Regions from separate parts of the Homo sapiens genome. Here region 2 is linked to region 1. Evidence: promoter capture Hi-C in 16 types of primary human blood cells and fetal thymus (Javierre and others, 2016). All regions are on one chromosome and are shown on one strand. The core of a region is centred on a gene start or on the middle of the fragment in contact, and the rest is flanking DNA. Distances in the headings are between cores, read along the strand shown.

What was found. Contacts are between HindIII fragments. The CHiCAGO score rates a contact against its expected background, and 5 or more counts as called.
Region 2: a contact is called between a fragment that was not itself captured here and the fragment with the promoter of DAPK2 in region 1, in 1 of 17 cell types (endothelial precursors). The highest score is 5.4, in endothelial precursors.

Annotation. Positions count from the first base shown.
Region 1 is chr15:64,044,532-64,047,774 of GRCh38, reverse strand. It overlaps DAPK2 (death associated protein kinase 2), which reads left to right and starts at 1,290. Exons shown (of 12, transcript NM_014326.5): 1 at 1,290-1,477. RefSeq lists silencers at 1,117-1,326, 1,347-1,406, 1,437-1,656 and enhancers at 2,857-2,906, 2,957-3,006. The HindIII fragment of the contact is 10,777 bases long and covers 1-3,243 here.
Region 2 is chr15:63,460,306-63,463,327 of GRCh38, reverse strand. No RefSeq gene overlaps it. Among named protein-coding and RNA genes, the nearest start is that of USP3, 43 kb to the left of the region's middle. The HindIII fragment of the contact is 2,296 bases long and covers 270-2,565 here.

The sequences.
Region 1 (3,243 bases), core at 41-2,540:
AAACTTCACCAGTGGGTGTCATTCCCTTAGGTCCGTTGACATCAGAAACCACCTCTAGTCTTGGATATTACTCTATATATCATGCTGCTCTTAGGAGAGGAGGCTCGCTGGCTGCACTGTTCTGAATTATTGTGAAGTTTATAAACAAGGAACTCTTTGCCGAGGATGTCCTGGACCCGGAGGCACTGCTCAGCTGGGGGGTGGGGTCCATCTGTATTTGTCCCAATGTCCAAAAGGCTGAAGGGTGTGTGTGTGCTCACACTGGTAGAGGTCCTCTAGGTGCATCTTACACACTCCATCTCATCTCAGCCCCACCATAGCTTCATTAGGAGCTACCGGAAGGTGCGTTTCTCCCACTTTACTGATGAAGAAAGAGCCATGCCCAAGAACACACATGCGGAGTGGCAGGGCAGGGCTTTGAACCTGGTGGTAGGACTCTGAATCTAAGGCCCTTTTGAGGAGCCCCATGGGTGACTTAGGGATGGAAATTCCAGGGGTTGGAGGGGTCCTCATTTGCTTCCTCTAAACAGCCTCTTGTTTTGAAATAAGACAAATGAACTTGGCTTAAGTTCTGTTTTCCCTTCCTTCCTCCCTTCACCCCCTCACTCTCATTCCTTTTTTCCTCAGGGATTTTTTGGCAGAGGGCAGAGAGAGGAACCCATTCCCAAGTCCTCTATTAGAGAAGGCGTGATGGTGAGAGGGGGGCTTCACTCAGCAACCGTGCCAGGACAAAGGGCAAACGAGGGCAGGCCGCTCTCAGGCTGGGTCGGGGGCAGTGAGGAGCAGAGCGGCCCTTCTCATCGCAGCCCCCACCTTGCTGTACGCTGTGGGCTTGAGGTTTCCAGGAGAGTCTGCGGTGTAGGGAGCGCTCTGGCTGGGAGGGAGGAGACGGCCTATTCCTCAGTGGGGCTTCCTCGCTCACGGTGTGTATGGTGGGGAGAGGAGCACACAAGTACCATTTTCTGAGGATTGTGCCAGACCATGTCATACGTATAAGCTCATTCAAATCGATTTCCAGATAAGGCCGGGGGAGGGTAGCCGACTTGCCCAAGGCCACGCAGCATGTGCGCGGTAGAGCCGGTAGGGACGCGCAGAGGGTCTTGCTACCGACTCTCCCCGCTCTCCCGGGAGTCTGGGAGCCCTGAGGTGTCCCCTACCCGGCCGGGAAGCTGGGCTCTCGCCCCGGGACTGTCCGGAGGGGGCTCCAGCAGGGGGCGCCCCGAGCCCCGTCCCGGGCAGCCGGGCGCGCCTCCAGCCGGCGCCTGGGACGGGGCTGGCCGCTCCGCCCCCTCGGCTCCTAGGCTGCTCGGCGGGCGGGTGCCGGGCGCTCTGGGAGGAGAGGACTGCAGGGCCGAGCCCAGCGCACCCCGCCGCGTCCCCCGTTCCCGCCGCGCCCGCCGCGCCCGCCGCGCCCGCCGCGCCCGCCGCTCCCGCCGCGCCTGCCGCGGCCGCGACCGCGGCAGCTCAGCCTCCCGCCGTGAGTAGCACCCGTCTGCGGGCTCGATGGGCGGGACGGGGCGCGCGGCCTGACGGCAGCAGCGCCCGGGTCTGGGGCTGGCGGGGCGAAGAGATCCGGGGCACTCGCTCGCAGATCCCGGGCCCGCCGCCCCAATGCCTGACGCCGTGGCCCGGGGCATTGTGGCCGGCACCCGAGCGCGGGAGCTGCCCGCCGCTGCCCTGGGGCGCCCTCCGGAGCCTGGCACTTTGACCTGGGAGACAGGGTAGAGGCGGCGGGCAGAGCCAAGCACCCAGCAGGGAGATGGGAGACAGACGTCCATCGAGTTAGGCCCCCTGGAACGGGCAGAGCACGCCCGGCTCCCGGCCAAGTCTTCTCAGCTTGGGCTGACTCTCTCACCTCTTGCTCCCGCCTGGCACAAGGATGTGATGCGAGGAGGGTGCTCAGATGTCTGAGCTTCCTCTGGGGCTGAATGAAGCTGGGGTCCCCGCCGTCAGGCGCCCCGGCCTGGGGTAGAGCTAGGATGGGCGTGGGGGCGGCCAGCAGGTGTGCTGCAGGTTGGGGTGGAACGGCTTGGAAGGGCGTTGCCAACAGTTGACTAGGACTCTGGGCTAGGCATTTTGGAGGTCCCAAGGCTTGCATAGGTCTGGCTAACCCTCACCGTAACTCTGCACGGTGGAAATTGGTATTCTTACTTTACAAAAGAGAAAACAAGGTCCAGAGAGGTGAGCCTCGTTGAGGCCGTGCAGGTAATGGTAAGGCAGTGGTGCACACTGGAGGAGAGGGCACCATAGCTGGCTGCCTCGGGGGCAAGCGGGCAGGTGCAGGGACAGCGCCTGACATCTTGTATCCTGGAATCCTGTGGAGGGCAGCCACTCTGGTTTCTGACACTGCGACTCCCAACTGCCTCTGTGGAAGATATTCCTGGGAGAGTCCTGTTGACCTAAGAGGCCGTGGTGCCTTGGCCTCTTCACAGCTAACTTCACAGCCCTGTCCTTCCCCAAACCGCTCATCTCCCAAGATGTTTTTTGAGCACCCTCAAGTGGCACCACTGATGATTCAGCACCTTCAGAGGAGACTTGGGCAGAGGGGTCAGGGGTGTGTGGATGTGGCTGGAGGTCTGCTCCTCTGGGGTAAGTTCCTGGCTGGCAGGAATGAGACCCGCACTGACCCTGCCCACCTCCTTGAGGCCTCCCGATTTGTTAGCTGTGGGGTGAACAAGCAGGCTTCCCAAGGGAGCTGGATCTTTGCCAGAGAGACCAAGTTTTTCTTGTGTCAACTCAGGCAGGTGGCTGACCTTCTGTGGGCCCCAGCTTCCTCATTGGAGACTGTGATGGGTCAAAGCCTGGAATGTAGAGAGGAGCTCTGTAATGCCGGAGCCCCATCCCTTCTGTTGGCAGCCTCTCCAGAGCCTGAGTGTGATGATTCCTAATGGGGGTGTGTGTAATGAGACGGTCGTGTGTGTTTTGCCCAACCATTGCCTGCCCTCTTGCTGTGGTCCCGTTTCACTCACTTGCACTTGGTGAGGTGGGATGAGGAACTGAGAGAGTTCACTTTGCAGAGTGAGCTGGGCCAGTGGTGGAGAGGGCTTCTTGAGTGTTGAGAGTTTCCTATGAGGTGATCTTCCAGCCCTAGACACCTCCTCCTAGCTTGTCCCTCAGGAGGCCACTGACTTTGCCAACCCTGGTGACATCTTGGAGGAGTTGGGGTGGCTATCAACAGAAGAAGCCCTGGGAAGAGGAGCGGGATGGGTCACCTGTATGATGCTCAGTGAGTCCCTTCCCCTT
Region 2 (3,022 bases), core at 168-2,667, 580 kb after region 1:
GAATTCCAGCAACTCAGCTTGTTCTTGGCTGTGTTTTATTGACAAGGCAGCATCTGATGCCCATTGAGATTCTGCTCATTAAAGCCTGGCACAGAGTGAGGCCTCCCTGTTAGCACCCCTCCCCACCCCAGCTCCTTTGTCCTGATGTTCTTACACCCTCAGTCCAACTAGGATGGATCTCAGCTACATAGAAAAATCTCTGATAGTGGTCTCACTGCCCTTGAAAAAAGCCTAACTCTCATTCTTAAAAAAAGCTTTTGGTGAAAGCTTCATTCATACAAGAATATATATATAACGTGTAAGTATAGTTTAAGGAATAACAATAAAACAAACCGCACACTAAACTTTAGAAAAAATACTACCAGTGCCTGCAAAGCTCCTATTGTTCTTCCCTGATGCATTCTCTTCACTCTCCTATCCTCGATTTTGCATTAATCTTTCTCTTGCTTTTTATTTTTTTGAGATAGGGTCTCACTCTGTCACCTAGGCTGGAGTGTAGTGGTGTGATCATAGCTCATTACACCCTTGATCTCCCGGGCTCAACTGATCCTCCCACTTCAGCCTCCCAGGTGGCTGGGACCACAGGCACATGCCACCACACCTGTTTACTTTTTTGTTTTTATTTTTAGAGATGCAGTTTCACTATGTTACCCAGGGAGGTCCCAAACTCCTGGAGTCAAGCAATCCTGCCTCAGCCTCCCAAAGTGCTGGGATTATAGGCATGAGCCACTGCATTCAGCCTCTCCTACTTTTGAGAAAGAGCTTTACCTTATAAGTATTATCCCTAGTTTTTCTTGCCTCTAAACTTTTATCAAGGGAATCATACTGTAAGTATTCTTTTATAACTTGCTTTTCACATCTGTGATCTATGTTGATGGGTACAGCTGTAGTTTATTCATTTTCATAGCTACATAGTTTCCACTATGGGACTGTGTTAGAATTTATTCCTCCTACAGCAAATGGACATTTGAGTTGTTTCCAATTTGGGACTATTTTAAACCATGCTTGTTTATTTCTCCTACTGCCTATATATGAGAGTTAATATTTATCTAGAAGTGGAATTACTGAGTCATAAGGTATGCGTGTCTTTAATTTTATCAGATAAGGCCAAACTGTTCCAAGTGGTGGTAACAATCAACTCTCCTACCAACCATGTATGAGAATTCTCATTGTTCTACATCCTTGCCCCTGCTTGATTGCCTGTGTTTTAAATTTCTGCCAGCCTCGTGGCTGTGGAATTGTATCTAATTTTTATTTTAGTTTGCATTTCCCTTATTACTAAGGAGGCTGACCATTTTTTCATATGTTGGTGGTCTTTTTGTATTTCCTTATCCCTGAAATGCCTGTTCATGTCTTTTCCCCATTGAAAAAATTAAATTGTTCATTCTTATTGATTTGTCGAAGTTTTAAAAATAGATTCTGGACAGGAATTCTTTGCCAGGTGTAGGTGTTACAGTGATCGAGTCCAGTCTCTGGATTGTCTTCTCTGTGTCATGTTTTTTTATGACTAGAAGTTCTTAATTTTAGTGAAGTCACCCTTCCTCTTTTCCTTGAACTTTTGGTGTCTTGTTTAAGAGTGATTTTTTACCCGAGGCCCTAAAAACGGTCTGGATTTTCTTCTAAAAGTTTCAACATTCCAAATGTCTTTCTTGGGACTGCTCTGCCTACTGAGCTCCTGAATCTTTCCACAAAATGCTTCTGCAAGCCAGAGGTTATTTCTATTCCAGTGGGCCTCCTCTCTGCACAGAGGGCCCCCGAGTTCTGCCAAGTGCCCAGAGAAAGGCTCCATTCACCGGGCGGGCTGCTCTCCATGGCCGTGAGTGTCCCGCGCTCTCTGCCGACCGCGGGCCCCTAGGAGGAGCCTTTGCTCCAGGCCTGGAGCTCCCTCCCCAGGCTCCTCTTGCACCCGGCTCCTGGCCGGGGAAGGGGAGCCCTTGCCTCCTGCAGACGGTGGGAGCGGCATCTCCTTTGCACCGAGCCAGGATCTCTGCATGGGGCCACCGCACTTGGGCCTCGCTAGCCTAGTCCGGCCCCTGACCCGCTGGGGCTGGGCCCCTCTTCCCATTCCTGCTCCCTCAGTCCTGCTTTCAAATCTACTGTCTTACCTCCTGCTCGGACGCCTTTCTTGGAATTCTCTTGATTCCTCCCTTGTCTTTTAGGGAGGCCCCGCAGTAACATTCTTTTATGGGTCAGATGCTGCTGAGGTTTCAACCTATCCCAAACTGTTGCAGGATGTAACTGACGAAACTGCAGGCTCCCCAAAGGATCAGACACTAGGGAGCCACAAAAGGTACAAAACCGAAGGGGGCACCGCATGTTTCAATGTTTGATTTTGCCTCACATTTCCCGCTCCACCAGTTAATAGCTGGCTCCACGGTTTCCTCTTTCTTCAGTTTCCTTATCTGGAAGACTGAGTTAATAATCACTACCTTACAGTTTTCGTAAGGATGAAGTAAGATAACTTGGGTAAGGTTCACGGTGCCTGGCACATAATAGGGACCCACAAATATTAGTTTCTCTTTGTCTTAGTTTGAGATCCCAAAATACACAGCCAGAGGCCAAGCTTAGGCACAAATGCTTTTTTGGTTGGTTTCATCTCACGGAAGCAAGAGTGGAGAACAAAGAGAAATGAGGCAGGCAGGCAGGCAGGCAGGAACCACAGATCCAGGGAGGTGTGGAGGGGCCAGAGCAGATCAGGGGCCATGCGGGGTTTCTCTGGACAGGCTGCGTGGAGACCCTGGAGGAGAGGAGAGCACTCTACCTGCCAGTGCCTGCCCACCTCCTATCTCTCATTAATCAAAGTTCACCTTTTGGGAGGCTGATTCCCCTGCATTCTAGGCTGTTTCCCTGGGAGCCCTTCTGGAGGACTTCTCAGAAAGCCAGACCTGCCTCAGGTCTGGGTGCCTGAGCTACTGCAGCTCGTGTTGCAGCGCGAAGGATGGGAACTGCACCACACCCTGACCCTTGTCCTTAGGGGAGCCCGAAGCAACCAGTGGCATTAGTAGATGCAGTGATGGTGGTG